5 separate regions of the Homo sapiens genome follow, and all the other regions are linked to region 5. The links are contacts of gene promoters, found by promoter capture Hi-C in blood cells and fetal thymus (Javierre and others, 2016). All regions are on one chromosome and are shown on one strand. The core of a region is centred on a gene start or on the middle of the fragment in contact, and the rest is flanking DNA. Distances in the headings are between cores, read along the strand shown.

The links. Contacts are between HindIII fragments. The CHiCAGO score rates a contact against its expected background, and 5 or more counts as called.
Region 1: a fragment that was not itself captured here is called in contact with the fragment with the promoter of RIC3 in region 5 in 1 of 17 cell types (M2 macrophages); the score reaches 5.6 in M2 macrophages.
Region 2: a fragment that was not itself captured here is called in contact with the fragment with the promoter of RIC3 in region 5 in 7 of 17 cell types (monocytes, naive B cells, M2 macrophages and 4 more); the score reaches 9.5 in monocytes.
Region 3: a fragment that was not itself captured here is called in contact with the fragment with the promoter of RIC3 in region 5 in 6 of 17 cell types (M2 macrophages, M0 macrophages, M1 macrophages and 3 more); the score reaches 10.6 in M2 macrophages.
Region 4: a contact is called between a fragment that was not itself captured here and the fragment with the promoter of RIC3 in region 5, in 4 of 17 cell types (M0 macrophages, M2 macrophages, endothelial precursors and 1 more). The highest score is 6.6, in M0 macrophages.

Annotation. Positions count from the first base shown.
Region 1 is chr11:8,511,405-8,516,341 of GRCh38, reverse strand. The region is part of intron 1 of STK33 (serine/threonine kinase 33); the gene reads left to right. Among named protein-coding and RNA genes, the nearest start is that of STK33, 80 kb to the left of the region's middle. The HindIII fragment of the contact is 3,168 bases long and covers 435-3,602 here.
Region 2 is chr11:8,572,828-8,578,162 of GRCh38, reverse strand. All of the region lies in intron 1 of STK33 (serine/threonine kinase 33), which reads left to right. Among named protein-coding and RNA genes, the nearest start is that of STK33, 19 kb to the left of the region's middle. The HindIII fragment of the contact is 1,831 bases long and covers 389-2,219 here.
Region 3 is chr11:8,556,226-8,561,761 of GRCh38, reverse strand. The region is part of intron 1 of STK33 (serine/threonine kinase 33); the gene reads left to right. Among named protein-coding and RNA genes, the nearest start is that of STK33, 35 kb to the left of the region's middle. The HindIII fragment of the contact is 2,780 bases long and covers 1,213-3,992 here.
Region 4 is chr11:8,538,554-8,544,043 of GRCh38, reverse strand. All of the region lies in intron 1 of STK33 (serine/threonine kinase 33), which reads left to right. Among named protein-coding and RNA genes, the nearest start is that of STK33, 53 kb to the left of the region's middle. The HindIII fragment of the contact is 2,051 bases long and covers 2,147-4,197 here.
Region 5 is chr11:8,165,871-8,171,128 of GRCh38, reverse strand. RIC3 (RIC3 acetylcholine receptor chaperone) reads left to right here and starts at 2,104. Exons shown (of 6, transcript NM_001206671.4): 1 at 2,104-2,263. The coding sequence starts at 2,140. It overlaps RIC3-DT (RIC3 divergent transcript), which reads right to left and starts at 2,059. Exons shown (of 5, transcript NR_187234.1): 1 at 1,940-2,059; 2 at 1,141-1,244. The HindIII fragment of the contact is 1,725 bases long and covers 1,500-3,224 here.

The DNA.
Region 1 (4,937 bases), core at 769-3,268, 350 kb before region 5:
GTTTTCCCAGTGCCATTTGTTGAAGAGACTGTTCTTTCTCCATTGTGTATTCTTAGCATCTTTGTTGAAGGTCAGTTGACTATATATGCATGGGTTTATTTCTGGGATCTCTATTCTGTTCCATTAGTCAATATGTTTATCTTTATGGCAGTATTATATTCTTGATTACTGTAGCTTTGTAATATATTTCCAAATCAGGAAGTGTGATGCTTCTGGCTTTGTTCTTTCTTAAGATTGCTTTAGCAATTTGTGGTCTTTTGTGGTTGCATGTGAATTTTAGGATTGCTTTCTTTTTGTAAAAAATGCTGTTGGGATATTGGTAAGGATTGCGTTTAATCTGTAGATTGCTTTGGGCAGTGTGGGCATTTTGACAATATTAATTATTCCAATCCATGAACATAGGATGTCTTTCTTGCCCCAGATCTTATAAAGCTTTCAGTTTTACGCCTTTGAGTGTGATGTTAACTATGGGCTTTTCATATATGGTCTTTATTACGTTGGGATTGTTTTCTTCTATTCCTGGTTTGTTGAGAGTTTTTTTGTTTTTTATCATGAAAAAGTGTTGAATTTTATCCAAATGCTTCTCTGCATCTATTGAGACAAAGATGTGATTTTATTTTCAATTCTGTTAATATGGTGTATCACATTGATTGGTTTTCATGTGTTGAACTATCCTTGCATCTCAGAGATAAGTCTTACTTGGTCATGGTTTGTGATCCTTTTAATGTGCTGTTGAATTCAGTTTGCTAGTGTTTTGTTGAGAATTTTTACATCTGTATTCATCAGAGATATTGTCATGTAGTTTTCCTTTTTCGTGGTATCTTTATCTGGCTTTGGTATCGGGCTAATGCAGCTCTTATAAAATGAATTTGGAATTCACCAGTGAAGTCTATAATCCTGGGCTTTTCATTGTTGGGAGGTTTTTGATTAATGATTCAATTGCCATACTAGTTATAGATCTGTTTAGACTTTCTGTTTCTTGAATTTATCTTGGTAGGTTCTATGTTTCTAAGAATTTTTCTGTTTCTTCTAGGTTATCCAGTTTGTTGGCGTATAATTGTTCGTAGTAGTCTCTTATGATTCTTTTTATTTCTGTAGCATGAGCTGTAATATCTCTTCTTTCATTTCTGATTTTATTTGAGTATTCTCTTTTTTTCTTAGTATAGCTAAGAGTTTGTCAATTTTGTTTATTCCATATGTCTCTTGTATTCTTTTCAATATTTTGTATTTTCTCCTTGATTTAATCTGGATGCATTTTAATTGTTCATTTTTCTGACTTCTCTTCCAGTTCAGCTGAGTTTAATCTGCTATTATGACCATCCTTTGAGTTTCTAATTTTTGCAATTGCATTTTTCAGGTCTTTAATGTCCTTTTGTTCATTTTTTGTGTTTTCTCATTTATTATAATTTTCTTGTCTGTATTTCTTTGATAGTTAGAGTCTCTATCTGATAACTTTAATGTTTGGAGCCTCAGTTGGTGAGTTTATATTCCTGGTTTTATTCATGTTTGCTTGTCTAGTCATGTGGCTGTTTTAAAAAAATTAAATTGTTTGCCAGACATTATATTTGAAACATTGTTTGCAGAGATAATCTGAGGTCCAGGATGGTGTCATCAACATTCAGAGAAGGATTATGTTTGTTCCTGCTAGCGCCTGTGGGTATAACCAGTCCAGGATCACGTCAACTCAATTTTAGAGAATGAGATGATTTGATGCCTATTGCTGTAGGTTGGAAGTCCTTCAGAGTTCTACCTCAATGTAATAAGGCTCCTGAGGTACTCAACCTTGGTGGACTTTAGACTGTATTTCTTATCCGCATGATCCCTGGAGGCTATCAGTAACATCCCACTCAGTCTATCTGTTGTTTCCTCAGGAATTGGCAAGCATCTCCAAATAGAATCTATAAATTAGTTTTAGTTTAATTTTTTACAGCTCAGATTTTTTTCCCCCATAGAGTGGTTTTATTCACGATGGCTAAGTTTCCAGGCTAACCCACAAAGGTTTAATCTGTTATTGTGTTAAAATGAAATAGAAAATTTGTAGAAAATGTGTTAATAATAATTATAGTCATTTATCAAAAAATAGAAGTTACCATAAATTTGGAAGCAACCTAAGTGTCTGTCAACACATGAATGGATAAAGAAAATGTGACACATATATACAATGGAGTACTATTCAGCCATATAGAAGAATGAGATCCTGTCATTTGCAACAACATAGTTAGAACCTGAAATCATTATGTTAAGTGAAATAAGCCAGGCACAGAAAGACAGACTTAGTATGTTCTCACTTATTTCTGGGAGCTAAAATACTAAGACAAGTAAACTCATGGAGATAGAGGGTAGAAGGATGGTTACCAGAGCTGGAAAGCGTAGTGGTGTGGGGTGGGGTGGGGAAGTGGGGGTGGTTAATTGGTACAAAAAATAGAATGAATAAGAACTCGTATTTGATAGCACTGCAGGGTGACAGTAGTCAATAATCATGTAATTGTACATTTAAAAATAACTAAAAGAGTATAATTGAATTGTTTATAACACAAAGGATAAATGTTTGAGGTGATGGATACCCCATTTATCCTGATGTGGTTATTACACATTGCATGCCTGCATCAAAATATCTCATGTATCCCATAAATATATACACCTACTATATACCCCCAAAAATTAAAAAAAAAGTTACCGTGATTGAAGTAATGTTTTAAAGTCTTGAGTACTTTTGATTTAAAAAAGCAGCCTCAATTTCAGGGGGATGAAAAAGTTGCAAGGATTGTGAGGGGATGGTTTGGATCTACGAGCAGTGTAGAGGTGGATAGCATGATTCTATATGGACTGTAATTTTTACAATCAGACTTATAGTTCTGTTTTTGGTTGATACAGTAATATCAGTAGCACTATAGACAAAACCAGCATTCATGAATAGTGCCTTATTTACACTGCAAATGAAACATATAGAGAGGGAGAGCTTCTTGAGGTATGGGTCAGCATTTGAAAGCAAGGTGGTAGGAACGGGCTACACACAAGCATAAGGGATTCTATTAGGTGGAATTAGCAGTATTGTGATGAGGAAAAAGAAGTGAGATGTTAGGTGAGCAGGGACAAAACCAGCAGGTTCTTGATTTCCTTGATGAGCAGAAGCAAGCTGTAGGGTGGTTAGCTCCACACGCTCTCCATGATGGCACAGGACTCCTTGCTTGCTTTAGTAAATAGTTTTGACTAAGTGGCAAAAAAGTGATGGTATACATTAGCAACTTATATGCATCATTATTCATAAGAGTGCCGCTTATAACCAAAGAATCAATTGTCATTTGTAGAATGAAGGAATATATAAATAGGAATTTCATAATTTGTTTAATTTTTTCTCTATTTGGGCTACAATAGTAAGTCCTTGAGAAATCTAATGTGAAAAGCAACTCAGTGCTAAACCTAGGGGCGCTAAATATGCTAAATATAATGGGAAGTTATAAGGCACAATAGGAAGAAAGAAGAGCAGGGAACTAGGTAATTGTGTACCTGAGGAAGGCCAAGGTCAAAATTTGATCAGAGTGAAAGTAGTTTGTCACTTCCCTAGCAAAGTCATGCTGACTCTATGAGATGGGGAACAAGCTTGTGCAAGAAGAAATCTGAGTCAGCACAGTACAGGCGAGAACCTAAGAAGGACAGTACAGTAAGGTGAAAGAACTAGGCTTTTAGTATTTTATGTATTAGACTTAAAAATAAAAAATATAAGCTTAAGAAGCTCATAAGAAATGAGCTTACAATAAAATTCTGAACATTTTGACCTCCTGCCTCCACAAACACTCTTGCCTTAGGACCATAGCTGTTACAGGAATGCTTTTCCTTCCAGCTTCTGCCAATTTTAAGTGAAATCCCTTTATGGACTCTTCATTTTTTACCTTGCTGGAGATCATCTCTCCCTTCTTTGAGCCAGTAGCACTTTGTATACTTCGTTTATCTGTGTCACATTTTATGTTAGATTGTATTTTTTAGAGACTCTGGTTGATATTTTTTTTGTATATCTACCCTCTATTTCCACAAGACCAAGAACGAGATCTTATATAAATTAGGTGCCCAATAAATACAAACTATGAAAAAAAGAAATTGTATATCATTATGTAAATTTTTGTCAGTTATAGAGAAAAGCATAAGTAGCAAGGAAAACTTAGTCACTAGAAATAAAGGAGAATTAATCTATAGATTATTGACCCAACAGAAAACTACTGTAAAATTCATTAGTCTGTTTTATCTATGAGCATAATCTACTTAAAGAAGATCTACCCTTTGATCTGGAGCTTTATTTGTAATAATAGTTGGCGCAGAAGGAATCATTTGCACATTTAATCCTTTATAAGTAGCTTTCTTTGATCATTTTGTAGAATTTCCATTTTTATATCTTAGAGTTATGACATATTAAGGGCAATACTTTAAAATATTACTGTTTTGATAGATGCAAAAATCTTCAACAAAATACTAGCTAACGGAATCAAACAGCATACCAAAAAGATAATACATCAGATCAAGTGGGTTTCATACTAGGGATGCAGGGATGGTTTAATACAAGTCAGTAAATGTGATATATCACATAAACAGAATTAAAAACAAAAATCATATCGTCATTTGAATAGACACAGCAAAAGCATTTGATAAAATCCAGCATCTCTTTATGATAAAAACTCTCAACAAGATTGGCATAGAAGGGACATACCTCAAAGTAATAAAAGCCAACTATGACAAAACCACAGCCACCATCATATTGAATGGGGAAAAGTTGAAAGCATTTCCCTTGAGAATTGGAACAAGACAAGGATGCCCACTTTCACCACTTCTGTTTAACATAGTACTGGAAATCCTAGCCACAGCAATCAGACAAGAGAAATAAATAAAGGGCACCCAGATTGGAAAAGAGAAAGTCAAACTGTCACTGTTCATCAATGATGTGATCA
Region 2 (5,335 bases), core at 55-2,554, 410 kb before region 5:
AAGTGCTTTCCTATTAGCAGAGCTCCATATCAGGCACTGTAATCGTATATATATGTATGGGTTGGTAGATTTCAAAATGAGAAAAGAGAAGATTATGGCATAGTTGACTGACTTGTAGTGAGAGATGTCTGCATATGAGCAGACATTTACTCACCAGAGTGAAACTTTCATTCCTAAAGAAAAAATGACTCACTGCTGCATGGAAGAACTTCCCTGGAGAGGCACTGTTGCATTTGACCTTTATTAGGGTTATGGTATGATTCTTGCTCAGGAAAGTTACCATATAAAAATGCTTACAATGGCTCTGTTACCATTGAGTATATCCAGAAAATGGGCAAAAGGAGGTTTTAAATATTTATGTATAAATTGAAGAGAGCCAAAGTAAGCTTGTGTATAAAGAACTGCAGAGCAGTAAGATAGGATAGAGTATAAATGGCATGTATACTTACACCTTCATAGCTTCTGCATTGGTAGAATATAAGGTGAATATGAAAATAAATGTTAATATTACACAGTACTTTGCATTTTTCCTGTTACTGAGTAAGTAATTACTATGTCCAGGAGTGATTCTAGAGTTTTTAAAAAGAATATGTATAGTAAAGAAAAATAATATATTTATATACCCAGATAAACAAGCTCAAGGAAGGTGACATGGCAGAATCAAAAAACATATCTAAGATTATTCTGCTTATAGCATGTAGCATAAATACTAAATAATAAGCAAAGTGTATGAAAAATCATCTAGGCTTTTGAAATTTGAGTTAAGACTTAGTTTTGTTTGTTCTCCTAATATTCTGATTTATTAATGAATTCTTGAAATATCTTTGATTTTTCCTTCTGCTATTTTTTGTTTCTTAGAATCCATAGTTAATGAACTCTGGAGTACAGTCTAAAGTCACTATGATTATTGAAGATTTTAAAATCTTTTATCCAGAAATATAGCTTTTTAGCTTATTTGTATTGTGTTTGAGACATAATTGAATGTAAAAGAGTGATACTGCCATATTTTGATAGTTGTATCATGTTAGATACCATAGTACCCTCTGCTAACTATTTACTAGACACATTTCAGGGCTCCTATCCTCCCAAATTTTCTTCTAAATGAATCTTCCTGGCAGGACATGGTGACTCATGCCTGTAGTCCCAGCACGTTGGGAGGCTAAGACAGGAGGATCACTTATAGCATATAATTTATTTATTGTATGGAACATTAAATCCCGGGGAAGTAGAGCAATTCTTTCATGTCTTATTCAAGGTTTTTTAAAGTCATCCAGTAGTCTTTTGTGAATTGATGAAACTCTGGAACATCTGTCACTTGCTTCATTTTATAGCATTGTTGTTAGGAGTTTGGCATGTTAGCAGATTTCTGGTTTTGAAGCCTGTCTCTGTCATTTATTAGCTGTGTGGCCTTGTGCAAATTACCGAACCTCTCTGTGTCTTGTTTCATGATCTGTAAAGTGGGAATAGTAGTAGAACTTATCTTATGGAGTTGTTACAAGAATTAAGTGAGACAATATTCCCAAAGTACTTAAGCCAGTTACTGGCACAAAAAAGGTATTTAATAAATGTTAGCTATTATTATTCAGTATGAGAAAGTTAATATCTGTTATATTCACACATTAAGCATTTGAAGTGATGAAATTTGTGGCATATATTTATAGCCAGATAGATAGTAATACATTATAAAAATTTTATCTACAATCTGAAAATAGATTTCAGGTTTATTTATTTCTTCTTATTACATTAGATGGTTTCATGAACATCAAATAGTTTGGAAAGTTCCAAAAGGAAATGAAGTCTTAAAGGCCTAAGAACACACTGACTTGAATGTTGGTTGTAATTCGTGTTTTGAATGAGGGAGGTCACCTTGGAACCTGAACTGTTCTTTCTTGTCCATGCAAAGTATGATCACTAATAACGCATTTCCCAGACATGGGTGCAGTGGCGGTGGTGAGAGAGTCATGAGGATTAGGAAAGTTCTGCTGTTTGTTTTCAACTCCCCATTCAGTCCTCTTTTTAGAAGTCTCTCTTCATTTTCCCCATCTCAGATGCCCAGTTTCTGTTTGCTGCCCTCTGGCACAGCATCCTGTAAACATTTTCTCTACCATTTACAAATGTCGGTTGTTGATTCGCTAACTAGATTGAGTTAGTCTTCTTAATATCTCCCTCTTAATATCCCTTGGTGAGGAATCTGTAGTCTTTAGAATACAGTATAAGCTTGTTAAGACTTGTAAGGTACTCCATGATTTAGTCTCTCCCAGTCTTCTCAGCCTGCATCTATTGAGATGATCATATAGTTTTTCTTTTTTAGTCTGTTACTATGGTAAGTTAGATTGATTTTCAAACGTTAACCCAACCATACATTTTTAGGATGAACCCTACTTGGTCGTGATCTGTTATCCTCTTTTTTATTGTGGTGATATATACATATATATGAAATAAAATTTGCCATTGCAGCCATTTTAAGTATACAATTCAGTGGCATTAGCTGGTTATCCACTACTTCCAAAAATTTTCAACACCCCAAACAGAAACTCTATAGCATTAAGCACCCCATTCTTCTCTCTTCCCCCAGCCCCTGATAACCTCTAATCTACTGTCTGTCTCCACGAATTTGCCTATTTTAGCTATTTCATATAAATAGAATTATACAATATTTGTCATTTTGTGTCTGACTTATTTCATTGAGCATAGTGTTTTCATGGTTCATCCATGTTGTATCAGAGCTTGTTCCCTTTTGTGGCTGGATAATAGTCCCTTGTGTCCGTATACCACAGTTTGTTTATCTGTTCATCTGTTGATGGACACTTGGGTTGTTTGTGTCTATTGGCTATTGTAAATAATGCTGCAGTGAGTGACTGTTGCTGTACAGGTATCTGTTTGAGGCCCTGCTTTCAGTTCCTTTGCATGTATACCTAGGAGTAGAATTGCTGGTCATGTGGTAATTTTATGTTTAGCTCTTTGCGAAGCCACCAAACTGTTTTTCACAGCAGCTACACCATTTTAAATTCCCAGCAGCAATGTATGAGGGTTCCAGTTTTTCCACATCCTCACCAACACTTGTCATTTTCACAAAAAATTAAAGCAATTTCATTATCCTTTCCCTTCCCCCTTTTTTTGAGACAGGGTCTTGCTCCCTTGCCAGACTGGAGTGCAGTTGCGCAATTATAGTTCAGTGTAGCTTCAAACTCCTGGGCTCAAGTGATCCTCCTGCCTCAGCCTCCTTTGTAGCTGGGACTACAGGTGCATGCCACCAGACTTGGCTATTTTTTTTTTTTCCTTTTTTTGTAGAGATGGGGCCTCATTATGTTGCTCAGGCTGGTCTTGAACTCCTGGCTTCAGGCAATTCTCCTGGCCTGGCACCCCAAAGTGTTGGGATTACAGGCATGAGCCACCATGCCTAGCCTCATTATCCTTTTATATATTAGAGGATTTAGTTTGCTAACATTTTCTTAAGAATTTTTGCTTCTAGGTTCATGAAGGATATTGGTCTGTAGTTATATGTACTTGCAGTGTCTTTGTTTGGTTTTGGTAACATGGTAATGTTATTGGGAAATGTTCCTTTTTTATTTTCTGGATGAATTTGTATAGAATTGGTATTATTTCTTCTTTAAATGTTTGATAGAATTCACTAGCAAGGCTATATGGGTCTAGAGTTTTCTTGGTTGAAAAGTTTTAACTAAGAATTTAATTTCTTTACTATTTATAGTTATTTTAAAAAGAAAAAGTATTTATGGCTATTCTGATTATCTTTTTTCTTTCTTTTAACTTTTAATTTGAAATAATTACAGATTTACAAAATGTTTCAAATAAATACACAGGGAGACTCTGAGCACGCTTCAACCATCCTCCCTCAATATTAATATCTTGCATAACTGTAGTATAGTATCATACTAGGAATCAAGGTTGACACAGTCCACAAAGCTTATTCAGACCTCTACAGTTGTATATTTACTCATTTGTGTATGCGTGTATATAGTTGTATGCAATTTTATGCCTGAAGCTCATATTAGCTCCATCTCTAAGTGTCCACTTCCTCTGGGGTGAGTGGGGATAGGGAGGGAGGGAGAGGGGCCACTGAGGGACTGGCAACACTCCAGCATGTGGTGTTGGGGTCCATGGGCAACTTCAAGGCAGGTCTTGTGTAACCACGAACTTTGTGTAACCATCACTGTAATCAAGATACAGAACTGCATCATCACCCTGAGTCTCCCTTGTCTACTCCTTCCTTTATACTCATACCTACCCCTCTCCTATCTGTAACCCCTGGAAACAGATTCATTTCTATAATTTTGTTATTTCAAGAATGTTATATAAATGGAATCATACAGTATGTAACCTTTTGAGATTGGCTTTTTTCACTCAGCATAATTCCCTTGAGGTTCATCAAAGTCTGTTGCATATTCCTTTTTATTGCTAAGTAATAGTCCTTAGTATGGATGTGCTACAGTTTGTTTAACCATTCACCTGCTGAAGGACATTTGAATAGTTTCCAGTTTTTGACGGTTACTGATAAAGCTGCTATGAACGTTTGTGTACAAGTTTCTGTGTGAACATAAGTTATCATTTCTTTGGGATAAATGCCCAAGAGTACAACGACTGGGTCATGTAATAAGTCAATTTTAGTTTTAAAATAAACTGCCAAGCTAATTTCCAGAGTGGCTGTACTATTGTACATGCCCACCAACAGTGTAGGAGTGATCTGTTTTCTCCATATCATCACCAGCATTTGGTATTGCTACTATTTTTTATTTTAGCCTTTCTGATTGATGATACTTCATTGCGATATTAATTCACATTTCCCCAAAGCCTAATGATGTTGGTCATCTTTTCATGGGCTTATTTGCCATTGTGTATCTTCTTCTGTGAAAAGTCTATTCATGTATTTTGCCCATCTTCTAAATGAATTTTTTAAGGTTGAGTTTTAGACATTCTTTGTATGTTTTAGATACAAATTCTTTGTCAGATATGTGATTTGCAGTCATTTTTCTCAGCCTGTAATTGTCTTTTTAATAATTAACAGGATCTTTTGCAGAGAAAAAGTTTTAAATTTTGATGAAGTCCAGCTTAACAATTTTTCCTTTTTATCTGTTTTGTTTTGAATGAGCTTTGGTGTTTGTTGAACTTCTTGGATCTGTAGGTTGGTAGTTTTTGTCATGTTTAGAAATACTTCACCTCTTTTTTCTGCTTTTGGAAAGCAGAAAAAAAAAGTATTAAGAATGCTTAATACTCTCTCACAGGTCATTGAGGCTCTGTTCATTTTTTCCTTGAGCATTTTTTTAATCTTTTATTTTGGATAGTTCCTATTACTATGCCTTTACTGATTTTTTTCTTC
Region 3 (5,536 bases), core at 1,353-3,852, 390 kb before region 5:
TTTTTATCTAAACTATTTCAAGTTAGGCTTATGCCATAGGCTTTCAACTAGGAATTCTGTATGATATGTAGATAATACAGGCAGAGAAGATCCAACATATGTGTTATTGGTGTGCCTGATAGAGAGTAGAACGAATGGACAATAATTTCAAATATATCATGGGGAAAAGACCACCAGAGATTAAACGGATTAGTAATCTGCAGATTCAAAGAACACAGAATTCTAAAAGAACTGAAACAGGATGATCAATATCAAATAAGTATGTAACAGTAAAGTTACTTGTGCTTCAAGATTAAAAAAAAGAATCGCCAAGCATCCAGACAGGAAAAGCAAGTCACCGAAAGGGGGAAAATGAGACTGGCTTCTGACATCATGGTAATAGCCAAAGCCAGGAGGCAGTTGAACAGTGTCTGAGTTTTGGTGGAATGTGTGTAGGCAGGGAATAGTGTGACCCACAGATTTAATACCTGGTCAAGCTCTTATTTATGCATAAAGATAACAACCAATATTCTCAAACATTCAAGGACCTAGTCCCTGAAGAAATGCCTCATGAGTAAAATTAATCATCTAAGTGATAAATAAAAAGAACTTGGGAATGAAGAAGCAGAGATAGGAAGGGGTTGATAGGGCATATGGAATCTATTTAAAAATAGACCAAGTAAAGTCTGAATAACTGCGTTGTATGAAAACAGAAGAAAATGTAAAGGCTCTAAAATTAATGTTGAATAAAGGATTTATGTAACAGATATAAAGAGGGGAAGGGAGAATAGGTAGAGGTTTGTAAAAGAGTTTGAACTCCCATTTATCTTCGTGGAGAGAGAGTCAGTAGATAACAGCCTGTAGTTGATGAATCTGCTAGTCTCAGTTGAAATCTAGGCACTGCCACATAGCAGCTATGCATTCTCAGATGAGTTTAATTCTCATAAGTAGCTGTAGAATCTTCATCTGTGTCTTGGAGGTAATGATACTACTAACCTACTAGGGTTGTTGTGAAGATTAAATACAATAATGTGTGTCAGGTACTTAGAACAGTGCCTGGCCTGAAGTAAGCATTCAGTAAAAATTACCAATTGTTTATTATTATTTTAAGGCAAAAACATGGGCAGATAATTTTATAATCTTGGGGCAGAGAAGGCCTTTCTAAGCATAACTCTCAACCTAGTGACCACAAAAGAAAAGATTAATTATTTGATTTCATAAAAACTAAAAGCTTTTACATGACAAAATCACCATGATAAGAATCAATGAACAAATACCCAAGTGGGGGAGAATAATTGCAATATGTTTGACAGAAGGAGGATTGATATCATTAATATTTAGGGATCACTGATAAGTCAACAAGAAAAAGATGAGAAAAAATCAGTATGAACAGATATTTTACAGAAAAAAAATTTGAAAAAATACTTAGCCTCATTTATAATTAAGGAGGTAGAAATTAAAATAAGATGCTATTTTTCATTTATCAAATTGAGAAAGATGAAAAAGTTCAAAAATATCTAATGACAGAATGTGGTAAAATGCACTCTCATATCCTTTCTTGAGGGCAGTCTGACATTTATCAAAATAATAAATGCTCACACATTTATCTCTGCAGTGCTACTGCTAAGAGTGTATTCTACAAATATATTCATCTTAGTATACAAAGATATATGTAAAAGGTTATTGCATATAGCATCATTTGTAATAGAAACCATTTGGAAGCAATTTACTTGACTATTGATATGGACTTGTTAAATAATTTAGAATGCTTATATATATTGGAATATTATATAGCCATTAAAACAAAAGAGGTGTAAATATATATATGGATAATGAAAAAATGGTTAGGCTATAATATTTAGAAAAAGGGTAAGTTACTGAGAATAGGTATAGTATGAGCTTATTTACAACCATATGTGATTTATACTTAGGCTGTGTATATGCAAAGAAAATTTCTAGAATGTTACACAGAACCATTGGAAATGATTATCTGTGAGATGGAGAATGGAGATGCTCTGGACTCTTATTTTCATTTTATACCCTCTGGACTCTTTCAGTTTTTATTACAGCAATTATTTTCTGATTTTATAGTAATTAAAAGCAAACAAAAATATTTTAACCGGTAGTGACTATGTTGCTTTTGAAAATAGAATTTAATATTCTGGGAATAAAATTATGGGGTAGAATAGTAAAACAAATCAAGTAGGTTCAACTAATGTTTGTTCAACAAAGATTTAGGAAGCTCCTACTTTGCATGACGTACTAAACTGAGCTTAGCTTGTGGAACAGATAATACTTGATAAATGCTAAAAATAGCGGTTCAGACATTTCTCCTAGAGGTTATATTTTCTTAATTAAAACCAGATGAAATGAAGTCTGTTAGTGAACACTGTTTTTATTACATGATTGTCATGCCACCAACCTAGAAACTAGCATGAGGGGCAGGAAAAAATGCTAAGGTTTGTGAACTTGGCTATGCCATTTTGTTGGCTTTGTGCTTTGGTTGTCATAATATGGCTGCTGAAGGTGTTGGGGATATGTGAGAAGGTATATTAGTGATAATGCTCATGATGACAGGAGAAGATCCTGTATTCCTGAGCAAAAACTAGATTTGATCAAATGCTGTATTTACCAGTGCTATTTATGTTTTGTTGCTTTAGAGGCAGCAATTTTATGAAGGAGGTTGTAGTTTCATGGAGGCAAGTGGACCTCTACATTTTCTAGGGTTTGGCCATGTGAATTATACCAATCTATTTAGAAATTGTGGCTGTTTTCTATTAGAGAGTCTGTGATTCTTCAAAATCTTGTGATTTCATTGGGCTCAAGACATTTTGAGGAATGGGAAATGAGTGCAGTATCCAGTTGGCATTAGCTTTTTGAATTTGAATACCCGCACAGCCAGTTGTGCTATATTAACACTTGTTTTGAAAACGTGAATTTGCTGCAATGCCATTGATATATTAGGAAGCGATTTGAGCATAAGTGAATTTCATGTTTGTGTTATCCATGATTTTTGTCAGCAAGAAACACCAGGTGAACACAGAATACAGCACATAGTTGAACCGAGCCCAGCAGGAACACACAAAACGGACACATGTACATACCTGGAATATCTACCAGCTACCTCAGTTCACCACAAGTTATGAGCCACACCCACCCGCATCTGGTGTCACACCTTTCCTTCTGATTTCAGATAACCTTCTTTCTGGCACCCTTGATTAATTCAAAAACTACAGTCTTTCAAATGCCTATATCTATAAGTAAACTTCAGGTTTTTTTCAAGGTAAGGTGCCATATATTTATGTTTCCTAACCATTTAACATATACAAAAATGCTATGATTTTTTATTAGGTTTCGTGTGTGTGTGTGTGTGTGTGTGTGTGTATCACTGACAAAGATTTGGAGTTTTGTGTCCCTAGCTACATTTCCCCCGTAAGTCCTTGTTTGTGCCATTTTTGCATAGTGTAGTGATTTTTAGGAATGTAGGTATTTCCTTATAGTGAAACTGACTATATCTCTTTGAACAAATTTATGCTGGTCTTTTTTCCTTTTCATTTTAAGTTTATGTAGTGCATCTGATTTGCAATAGTTAAACAGCTCCCTGCAAACAAATGAATGATGGAAATCTTATTTTTCCTTTTTTTGCAGGTAATCCATTGTACCAAGTTAGCTCAACATTTCTGATTTTAAACCAACTTCTCTAGTTCCTTGTTGGCAGTTGGTTAGGGCTTCATGTGTCCTAGTGAATTGAGTGATTTTTCTAAGTTAAATTTTTGTGAAGGGCTGCATCTTGAGATAAGGTCCCAAATGCCTCATGTTGAACTCCTTTGGACTTCTCTAGACTTCTGTGACTTAAGGTTCATTACATTGCTAATCGTCCATGTTTATTATTATATGAAGAAAGCCTTGCACCAAGTTTGTGGCATGAAGTAAGTACATAGGTATAAACAGCATGTGATTGAAAACCAAGTATTTATTATTTGGAAGTGAATTACTTTTTTTTTTTCAAAGCTTAGTTATCTTTTTTGAGGGTTTTTTTCTACTCCAGTGATGATATAGGTTGAAGTAAAAATCTTTCATTGAATGCTGAAGTTCCTTTTTGAGGTTCTAACATGATATACATGAATAAAGGAGTTACAAGTCTATAATTGCCTTCTTTACATCTGACTTATAATGCTTTCTTGTGTCCAGGTTCCGTTCCTTATTCTAGTTCACTTAGTAGTTGCACTAGGAATTATTTCTGTAAAAATATGAGAGATAGGAATGTATATTTTGACTTGAGTATTTGCTTTAAGGTTTTCCTTGTGTAAGTACAGGTTTTTATTCTGATTTTGGCACGTAAGAATTCAGCTTTAAGTTGAAATTTAAGACTTCCTGACTTCCTTTTTCCCCTCCTTTTTTCCTTCCTTCCTTCCTTCCTTCCATCCTTCTTTCCTCCCTCCCTCCTTGCCTCCCTCTTTCTTTTCTCCTCCTCCTCCCTCTCCTCTTCTCTCCTCCCCTCCCCTCCCCTCCCCTCCCCTCCCCTTCCCTTCCCCACAAGGTCCCCCTCTGTTGCCTACGGTGGAGTGCAGTGGCACAATCAAGGCTCACTGCCGCCTTGACCTCCCAGGCTCCAGTGATCCTCCTACCTCAGCCTCCCAAGTAGCTGGGACCACAGGCATGCACCATGATGGCCAGCTAATTTGTTTATTTTTTATAGAGATGAGGTCTCACTATGTTGCCCAGGCTGGTCTTGAACCCCTGGGCTCAAGTGATCCTCCTGCTTTGGCCTCCCAAAGTGTTGGGATTACAGGCATGAGACACCATGCCTGGTTTAAGGTTTCTTTTAATTTTCTCTTTGAAAGAAAGTATCTTAGTCAATAGCAAGTGCATCTAGCAAAGAGGGGCATTACTATGGTGACCCTAAAATCTGTTCTTCTCTTCTTCATTCATTCATTCTTCATAGAACAAATATTTGTTAGGTGCCTAATATGTGTTACATCATTTTAGGCTCTGGAGAATATAATGATGAGCAAAAATACAGTCTTTCCCCTCACAGTCTAGTGGGGGAAATAGACTTTAATTAATTAGTGACCAAAATATATACTTATAAACTGTGATAAGTGCTATGAAGAAAGTGTACAAGTTCCTTTGAAAGAGAAAAACAAGGGGACCCAATTTGGATAAGTGATTTAAAAAAAGCCTTTCTGAAGAAGTGACATTTAAACTGAAGTCTACAGGATAAGGAGTTTACTGGAAGGGAAAGGGGGTGGAAGGATTTCCAGGCAGAGGCAAGAGGTTTTGTGATATCATTTTATAGTACTTATGACCTTTTTAGATGCTTATATAATTAGGTACTAGTCTATGAGCAAGACAGTTTATAGAGCTGTGTTACTGAAAAGATGCATATAAATTACATTTTTATAAATGAATTCCTGAATTCCTGCAGGCTTACATTATACTCACTGTGCTATATCATCTGCATTTGATTGATGTTCAGTTACTTCAATTACTGCTAGATTGATCTTTCTAAAGCACAACTTTGATGACGCTTTTTTCTGCTCAGAAATCTTTACCA
Region 4 (5,490 bases), core at 1,923-4,422, 370 kb before region 5:
CCCAGAACTTAAAGTATAATAAAAAAATGGAAAAAAATCATTTAGTATTATTTTGAACTGGCAATTGTGAATTACTATTTAAAAAATCACATGGGCATTTTAACCTTTTCTAGTTGCATTTCTCACACAATGAGTGTTTTCTTTTATATTTTTAATTTTTGTGAGTACATAGTAGGTATACATTTATGGGGTCCATGAGATATTTTGATACATGCATGCAATGTGTAATATGTCATGGAGAATGGGGTATCCATCCCCTTAAGTATTTATCCTTTGTATTACAGATAATCTAATTATACTTTTAGTTATTTTAAAATGTACAATTAAGTTATTATTGACTATAGTCACCCTGTTGTGCTATCAAATAGTAGGTCTTATTCATTCTTCCATTTTTTTAATGTACCCATTAACCAGTCCCATCTTCCCCCTACCACCAACAACCCTTCCCACCCTCTGGTAGCCATCCTTCTACTTTCTACATCTATGAGTTCAGTTGTTTTGATTTTTAGATACCACAGATAAATGAGAACCTGTGATGTTTGTCTTTCTGTGCCTGGTTTATTTCACTTAACATCATAATCTCCAGTTCCATCCATGTTGTTACAAATTACAGAACCACAATGAGTATTTTCTAAAGAGTATTTAAATTTTACTTATTTGGTTTTGACTTGTAAATTTGAAATACGTTGGTTTATCAACAAATGTGGCCAAATAAAATAATAATGTTTTAATTCCCATAGTTAAAAATATATTTTTGAGCTCTTAATCACTGAAGACATTTGAAATGTTTTCACCTGCTGATTTAAGTGACAATTAAATGGTGAATATGCGTCCCTCTTTTAGATTCCTTGGAAAACCATATCATAGGGCAAGATCCTTAATGGACATGTGATTTTTCATCTCTTTGGTCATATTTGTCACCCTAGGGGAATCTAATGAATGAGTAGATACATATTTGGAGAACAAAACAGAGTCTGCATTGGGCGGCATCAAACTGATGGAGATAATAAGAAGCTATAAAAAGTGAAAACCAGGCCGGGTGCAGTGGCTCATGTCTGTAGTCCCAGCACTTTGGGAGGCTGAGGCGTGTGGATTGCTTGAGCCCAGGAGTTCAAGACCAGCCTGGGCAACATGGCGAAACCCCGTTTCTACAAAAAAATACAATAATTAGCTGGGTGTGGTGGTGTGTACCTGTAGTCTCAGCTACTCAGGAGACTAAGTGGGGAGGATCTCTTGAGCCTGGGGAGGCAGAGGTTGCAGCCGAGATCGTGCCACTGCACTCCAGCCTGGGTGACAGAGTGTCTTAAAAAAAAAGTGCAAACTAAATCTTTTCATTTATTAAAATTCATTAATTCATTCAGCAAGTATTTTTGCATCATCCAAGCATATTTGATCACGTGCTTGGCATTCTTTTAGGTCAGTATTTCTCAGCGTTGGCCCTATTGACATTTTGGAGTGGGTAATTCTTTCTTGTGGTGCAGCCATATGCATTTTGGATGTTTTGCAGCATCCTTGGTTTCTTACCCTCTAGATACCAGTAGCACTCCCCTAGTTGTGACAACGAAAGATGTTCCCAGACATTGCCAGCCATCCCCCGGGAGGCAAAATCACTTCCGTTGAGAACCACTGTTTTAGATGACAAACATTTTAAAAGCAATTTTTTTGAAATGTATTTTGTGTTGTTTCCCTATTTCAGATTTGTACATGTTCCATGTGATTTTTGTCTGTCAGTATTTCCTGGTCAGTGCCCTATCTGAAAATTGACTTAGGTTTCGTAATGACATGTGGAACTAGCCACATTTATCGTAGAAATATTGAAATAAAACCCTTATATTTTAAAACTAATAGTTGATTTAATCGTGATTCTGTAACATTTATGACATCCTGAATCAAAGAACCTACTATTTCTTGATCTTTTGAAAAGTACTTTGTACCTATGAGCAAATTCTTACAAAGAAACCTTCTAACGCTTATTTTTCCTCCTTTAAAAATGATCCTATTCATCTTTTGTTTTAAAGGCTCTGTAGCTTATTGGTACTGCATAAAAATTCCATTATTATAGAGACTGTTCTCTTTGCTTCTCTGCTGCATCTTCTTCTGAAGTTATGAGAGATGTGAAACATAGTCTGAAAATTCATTCAAAGCTTTAAAACTTATTATATCCAGGAGAGACAGATTTAAGATTGCTGAGGTTTCTGGTTGAAGTACTTCAAGCAGAAATCCATACTCCATTAGACTCTCTAACACTGTGACCTTAATTTTTCAGATATTTTGCTCTTTAAATTGAAAGTAGTATTTTAATACAATTTAAGTCTTTTGAAGGGGCTTGTAGTACCACAGACAGAAGTTGTGAAACATTTGAACAAATGGAAAGTAAAATAGCAACGAATTTAGGACTATATCAAAGTTTTAAATTTCAAAATATATAGTGATATAAAGATATGTATGGAACATACTTTATGCACTGGAGTTGGGGGAAAAGCTATTTAGTAAGGAGTTGTTCATACTGTACTTAAACAGAATTTCTTTCATTGGATATTTTTCTTGGCATTGCCTAAAGAGTTTCTGATTAGGAGTGGTTGTTAAGTTCTCTGAAGTTAGAAAATTTACTTTGTATAAAACCGTGGTCTGGGTGAAATGAAAGTCTACCTGGACAATAGCTACTGAGTTATCTTGCTTCAACAGATAAAGCAGGAAATGTAAAACTGTAAAACTGTATTATAGTACTGAATCACGAAACTGAGAACTATTTTTTAAAAAACCTCTTTGGAAAAGGAGAGATGAAAAGCCTCTTGTTCTTTTATTAGTAAATTAGGTCAGTTTTTAAATAATATGTTCATTGAAATATACACATTTCTCAAGTAATGATATAATTTAATTCAATTTATATTTTAAAGGCATAACATCTGAACTGAATTCTTTAGAGGTCCTTAATTGCTTCATCTATTTTCCATTGTAAAATGTTGTTTCAAACCTAAATTTAAAAAAATGTGTTATGTATATTTGAGGTTTACAGCATAATGTTATGAGATATATATATATATATATAGAGAGAGAGAGAGAGAGAGAGAGAGAGATAGTAAGATGGGTAGTATAGTGAAGCCGATTCACATATCTCATCTCACATAATTACTTTTTCATGACAAGAGCAACCAAAATTTAGTTATTTAACTAAAATGTCTAATATAATACAATTTGATTAACTTTAGTCCTCATGTTGTGTATTATCTCTAACTTGTTCACCCTACATATCTGGTATTTTGTATCCTTTGATCTGCATCTCTTTGTTTCCTCTCCCGCCCCCTGCCCATCCATGGTAGCTACTGTTTTGTGCTCTGTGTATTTGAACTCTTTTCTTTTTAAATATTCCATGTATAAGTGAGAGCCTGTGATGTTTTTCTTTCTGTGTCTGTCTTTTTTCACTTAGCATAATATCTGCTAGGTTTGTTTTGTAGCAAATGGCAGGATCTACTTCCTTTTTAAGGTTGAATAATATTCCTGTGTGTATATGCGTGTGTGTATACACACCACTGTTTCTTTTTAAAATTTTATTTGTCTTTTTTTTAAAGACTGGGTCTTGCTCTGTCACCCAGGCTAGAGTGCAGTGGTATGATCATAGCTCATTCAAACTCCTGGACTTAGGGGATCCTCCCACCTCAGCCTCCCAAGAAACTAGAACTACAAGTACACCCCGCCATACCTGGATAATTACATTTTTTTTTTTTTTGTAGAGATGGGTTATCACTATGTTGTTTGCCTGGTCTCAAACTTCTAGCCTCAAACGATCCTCCCACCTTGGCTTCTCAAACCACTGAGATTCCAGGCATGAGCTACCACACCTGGCCAACAGTTTCTTTATCCAGTCATTCACTGACAGACATTTAGGTTTTTTCATATCTTGGCTATTGTGAATAATGCGGTAATCAACATGGGAGTGCATATATATTTATGAGGTGAGCAAAAGGTCTTCTCTTTTGGGTATACACCCAGAAGAGGGATTGCTGGGTTGTATGATAGTTCTATTTTTAATTTTTTCGGGAACCTCCATACTGTTTTCCATAATGGCTGTACCAGTCTATATTCCCACCAACAGTGCGCTAAGGATTTCAGGCCTAAATTGATCATATAATCTTTCTTTCAGTTTGCGGCTCACTGAAGGGTGATACATCAAATATTATTTATTTATCTATAGAAGCTTAGCATTTACATTAGCTCCTATTTACGTACTACAGTTATGAGTTAGCTATTAAGGGTGTAATGTAACCTCACTGAGTTCCTTTATGTATATTCATGATAGTTAAATGCCAAATAAATCATATGTCTATCTTAATGCCAAGTAATTATTGCATCAGTTGCTAAGGGGCATTCTTTATGATGAAGAAGCAATTTCAGGTAGATTCTTCGAATCTTTTGCTATCCTGCTGCAATCCGAAACTATTGGGTTGTTTACTCTTATTTATTGGTGTTGGTATTTTAGGGGTGCTCCATTGTTTCAGATCAAAAGTGAACAGATTCCTACCTGTTTGTAGGACATAGCCTGTTTTTGCTGAGACTTTGGTGGTGTCGCTAGGTCAAGTATTTCATCTTCATATTGGCCAGCTGGCTTGCTCCCTTGCCTTGTTCACTGATACACTGATTCTTAAACGATCACTCATGGCCTCATCAGACCAGGGCAAGAGAGATTCATCACCTCACTGAGGGAACATTTTGAGATGCAGCACCGTGTCAGAGATTGCCTTTAAGCCCCTAGAGAAACGGGCTTGATAGCAATGTAAGTCTCTATGATAATGGGCTAGGTGAGAATCTTAATTTTTACTTCGTTTTAAATTTTTGTTTTTTAACAAAGTTATCTACAATTTTGTTTTTTCAGAAAGTCATTATTGTTTTTTTTTCTCCTTCAGAATACCTCTTCTGTAAACTTTACAGGTTGTGTAATAGTAAAATCCTTCTGGCTGGAGCTGATACTTCTTGGATAGGTTACATATCAAGGGACAAAGAGATTCTGGACAAATCTTAAATGTACAAAACCCAGTTTATATTATCAGTAATATTTGAAAACATTTCTCTTATTTTTAGACATCCTTCTTTTGTCAGAAAGGTTAATTGGCCAGATAGCAGTGGTTCATTGGCCTGTAATTATCATCTGAGACAAGCGAGTTCCGGACCCTTGACTTTTAGGAAGTCCTCCTGTTAGAAGATCATAGCTCCATATTCTTTCCCTTTTTGACATTTTAAAAAAGTAGCTGACATCCTGTTTATCGTTCATTCTTTAGAGACATGCATATGTGTGTGTGTTCATTCATTCAACAAGCATTCGTTGAGCACTAGACACATGTAGGAAAGAACACATCTTGTTAGGTTAGGTCGCTCTGCCAAATTCACGTAAAATTGCCTATCTTCTTGAGCCTTTTGTTTTTCTAAAAATATGCCTACTACTGGCTTTTTTCTTTAGTTAGTGGCAACAAAGTAATCTTTTATAATACCTATGAT
Region 5 (5,258 bases), core at 855-3,354:
TATCCATTGCTTTAAAAAAATCAAACAATTTTTTTTTAGAGACAGGGTCTCACTCTGTCACCCTGGCTGGAGTGGGTGCCCCTACTGGCTTCATTCAGGCATTATTATCATCTTATATATCATAATTAATTGTGGTTTCACACAATCATAGCTCACTGCAGCCTCAAACTCTTGGGCTCAAGTGATCTTCCCACCTCAGCTTCCTGAGTAGTTGGGACTACAGGTGCACACCACCATGCCTGGTTAATTTTTTACATTTTTTTGGTAGAGATTAGGGCTCTCCCTATGTTGCCCAGGCTGGCCTTGAACTCTTGGCCTCAAGCCATCCTCCAGCCTTGGCCTCCCAAAGCCCTGGGATTATAGGTGTGAGCCACTGTGCCCAGTCTCAACTGCTTTTTAATCAGATTTCCAGCCAATCCTTCATTCAGACCCACTCTGCACCCTTGGCTTTAAAGGAACCCAGTACCTCCAATTCTTAAGAGCATGGGTTCTGAGGGGCAAATTAGTTCACTCCTTACAGGCTTTCAGTCCACAGGCATTTAACTTTTTATGCTCTACACCTGCACTGTCTACTGTGGGCGCCAACGAGCCACACTATCGTGCTGATAAAATTTGAAATATTTTTGCTATCTTGGTTTAAAATATTATTAAAATAAATTTTACTTATTTTTACTTTTTAAATGTGGCTACTGGAAAAATTTAAATTACATATGTGGCTGGTATTATGTGTCTATTGGACAGTGTTGTGTGCGTCTTACAAAATTGACATTTCTCATCTGCTGTCATGTTTTCTATCATTGCATTTAGTCTTGTAGTTTATATACTTTATTTCTTTATTTTCCTTTTTGGGCACTGTCCCAGGAAAGCAAAGATAAATGCATATGTTACATCTGTCATGTTTAACTGGAAGTTCTACCTAAGCTTTTCACAATGTAGCTCCTGCTTATATTTGTGCACTTCGTGTCCTGTCACTACTCTATGGCCCTGCCAAAATGAATTACCAATAGCTTTCTGAACACACCAGGAAGCTTCCAGATTTGCCTTTATTTTTTTGGCCTCCTTTTTCCGGAATACCTTTCTAACCCCTCCCACCTGTCTGCCTATAAGTTACTCATTTTTCAACAGCTAACTCAATTTCACCTTCTCAAAGGGGCTTTTCTTGACTTTTCCTCGTACCAGTTGAGAAGACTGCTCGGGGATCCAGAATATTTCCTGCATTTTTTTTGTTTGGATAATTATCTGTCCTACAAAGGGAATCCATTTTATTCATCAGACCCTGTAGTGCCAAGTTGAGGGTCTAATACATAGTAAAAACTAAAATAATGTTAAATGAACGAATGAAGAGAGTAACAAAGAACGGTGGGATTGTAGAGAAAGGAGAGGCTGACTGAAAACGTTTCGAGAGAGCAGTGTTTTTAAGCTGTTCTTCAGAGAAGTTTTTGACAACTGGAGATGGTGTCAGGAATTTTCCAGGCAGTGGGAACAGGACAAGCAAAGCTTCCCTGAAGACAAGCAATATGCTAAAGAAATAGCAAATCATCCAGTTTGGAAGGAGCATTGGTAAGACCAGATCATGCAGGGCGTTGAGGTTATAGAAAGGAGTTTAACTATTGTTCTGAAGATAATGGAGAGTTAAAAGGTTTAAGCTGGAGAGAAAGAGAATTAGTCTTGTGTTTTAGCATTATCACCTGTGGCTGCAGACGGATAATGAATGCGAGGGGCATGAGTGGAAGCTGGAAGACAGCGAGATCATGGAGATGAGGAGAAACTGGATGTTGTGATCTACGGGTGGGTGGGGGGCAGTGGTGGTAAGTGGGGATAGAGATCCGGGCACGACCGCCGGATGTGTAGGCGGTAGAATGCACAGGACTCAGTAAAAGATGAACATGGGGAGTGAGGGAGGAGTTTTTAGTTAGTATGAACGGGAAGGCGAGGGTACCATTTACAGCGACGGGTAACCACGCGGGAGGAGCAGGTCAACTCCCGACAGTGGAGGTGAAGATGCGTGCGCCTCGCGCACCTTGTCCCTCGCGCGACGCCGTCCGCGCCGCCCGCGGTTCGGTCGGGAGCGGCAGCCCGTGCTCCGGTTCCGGTTCCGGTTCCGGCTGGCGTCTGCACCTGCGACCACCGTGAGCAGTCATGGCGTACTCCACAGTGCAGAGAGTCGCTCTGGCTTCTGGGCTTGTCCTGGCTCTGTCGCTGCTGCTGCCCAAGGCCTTCCTGTCCCGCGGGAAGCGGCAGGAGCCGCCGCCGACACCTGAAGGTAAGAGCAGGCCAGCTCCCTCTGAGCTTCCCGGCGCCGAAGAGTACGGAGAACGCTGCTTGAGGGAGGGGTGACTCTGAGAGTCTGCAGCCTTCACCGAAATATCCACCAAACTGACTGGAGAGGGCGGGCGAGACGGCGTTGAAGGGCCAATGCCCACGGTTCCGTTGTTATCAGCGGGTGGCGGCCCAGATGGTTCTGCTGCTGGAAGGGTCAGGAACGTATGCATGCAGGTCTGTGCATCCTCTAGGTGGCCTTGCGTACTCCCGTTTAGGCGCAGTCCCTTCTCTCTTACCCCGCTGGCTTAACTCATCTCGTCACCATTTGTTCACGTGCTTTGAGTCAAGGGTTCCCAGTTGGGTTTCCCTCTTTAGGTTTTCCGTGTACTTTCTGACGCGCCGCTTGGTACGAAATCAAGGCAAATGGAATTGGTACAGCAAACCTTAAGTCGTTATGTTTTTTCAACTTGGTGCTGGGCGCTCACTGCTTCAGGCTCTTCTTGTGCCTTTAAAAATATATCTTGAAGATTTTAATAACCCCAGTTTCAGTTACTGAGGTGGTTATGAACAAATTATTACGTTCCCCTTATTGAAACAGTATTTATCTGTTAATTCTTCGTTGTTGGCATGATGTATGTGGTGTTTAAAAATTCATCCTCTTAGCTGCACTGGGGCCTTTTACAGAATGAGTGTAAAGGCACGGTGCTGAAGGCTGGGAGAAGGAACCAGAACAGTTTTCTATAGGTCATGAAGTTCTACTGGTAACTTTCTCCTGTAAATTATCCTTGTAATATCTTTGAGACATGATTTTACGGTGTCTGAACACTTCCAGTAATGTTTAAACTGTTGATTGCTGGACAGCTCCTTTTGAACTGTAATCCACTTCCGTCTGCTTTATGCACATTGACTGTAGTTCCATTCTCTTGAGCATCATACACACTATAAATGCAAAGCACCAAGCTTTAGGGGTGGAGGGCAGGTTGAACACATAATTCTGTTTACAGAATTTGCCTGATAATCTTTATGCTTGTAAGACTATCCACTTGGGACGGACTTCTAAAACATCTTTGCGTATTTGTTCTTTTTTTTTCCTTTCTGTCTTATTGCAATAATCCCAAAGATTTTTACCTGCTTTGTCTAATGATATTGTCTACTTTGAAGAAGAGTCAATTCATGATGATCCTGAACAGTGAAGATTCTTCGAAAACTTTTTTTTTTTTTTTTTTACTTTCCATTATGGTGAATTATCTTGAACAAGTACTATTGACTGTGAGTGGGAGACACTCTTCTGAACGTTGTAGAAAATGTAGAGTGGAGATTAGACATGGGTTGTTCCCTTGAGAACTCAAGTGTTGGTATTCAGTGTTCTCATGTTAGGATCTTTGTACCTTCAGTTCTCTTTATTCCTGAAGTGCTGTGCTTTTCCCTCAGTGCCCTTCTCATCATTCAAATTTCTGCTCAAATGAAACCTCCTCAGAGAGACTTCCCCTGATGACACTAACTAAAATAACTCTTTTCTCCCATCATTCTCTATTTTATCATGTTTTATATTCTTCATGATAGGCATCACTATATGATATGGAATATTCTTAAGTGTTTACTTGTTTGTTTTTTTGTCTTCACCTTCTAGAATGTAAGTTTGCAAGGGTAGGGACTTTGTCTTGTTTACCACTGTTTCTTCAGTACCTGGCATATAATGGGCAGTCAATAAATACTTTAAGATTATTAAGCTACCAATACTGTAAATTCTGTTTTTGACAAGGAGAAGCTACTGAAGTAGTATAACCTAGGAAAAAACTTACCTTGAATGGTACATTCCAGTAACTGAAACTTGCAGCAAAAAATCTTAACCATTTTGGGGTTACATACACCATTGAGAATCTTATAAAAGCTATGTATTTTCTTTCTTTCTCTCTCCTTCCTCCCTCTGTCCCTCCCTCCCTCCTTTCCTCTCTTCCTGGCCCCCTTTCCCTTTCTCTTTCCCTTTCCCTGGGTCTCACTCTGTCACCCAGGCTGGAGTGCAGAGTCATGATCACAGCTCACTGCAGCCTCTACTTCTAGGGCTCAACTGATCCTCCCACCTCAGCCTCCCAAGTAACTGGGACTACAGGCACATGCCACCATGCCTGGCTAATTAAAAAAAATTTTTTTTGTTTTTGGTTGAGATGGGGGTCTCATTGTATTGTCCAGGCTGGTGTCGAACTCGTGGGTTCAAGTGATCCTTCTGCCTCAGCCTTCCAAAGTGCTGGGATTACAGGCTTGAGCAACTGCACTCAGCCTAAAACTGTATGTTCTCTCTAGAAAAAGGTACATACTCTTATTGTACTCAGAATTTCAGTATCAATTCAGAGAATTCTCAGAACCCAGAAATCCCTGCTTTGAAGAAAGGAATAACCCTGAGTATTTGAAAATTCTTAAAAATACATGTTGTTATGTCTTCCATTTTTGCCCATTGATGTGCATGAAACAAGCACAGTTCCCTTTCCACATGAAAGCCTTTAAGATAGTCTTTTAACAAATATTTATGATGTACCATATCACATACTGTGCACATAGTGTATAGACACTATGTATTCCAAGAAAAAATGAGCGAACTCCATGCTTTGAGGCGGCCACAGTTTAGTAAAGGAAAGTAGACATGTCAACAGATAAATGCAAAACAGACATGTTAGCAGATAAATGCAAGAGTGTCAGTCACAGTTACTCAAGTCTGCGCAGGGAACAATGGAGACATGTATGCAATGGTCAGTGTTATTGGGACTTAAGAAGGGTTTCATAAACCAGGTGTGACAGCTCATGCCTGTAATCCCAGCATTTTGAAAGGCTGTGGTGGAAGGATTGCTTGAGCCTGGGAGTTCGAGACCAGCTTGGGCCACATAACAAGACCCCCATCTCTACAAAATAAGTTTGTTTTTTTTCAATTAGCTGGGCATGGTGGTGTGCACCTGTAGCCCCAGCTACTCTGTAGGCTGAGGTGGGAGGATCGTTTGAAGTTT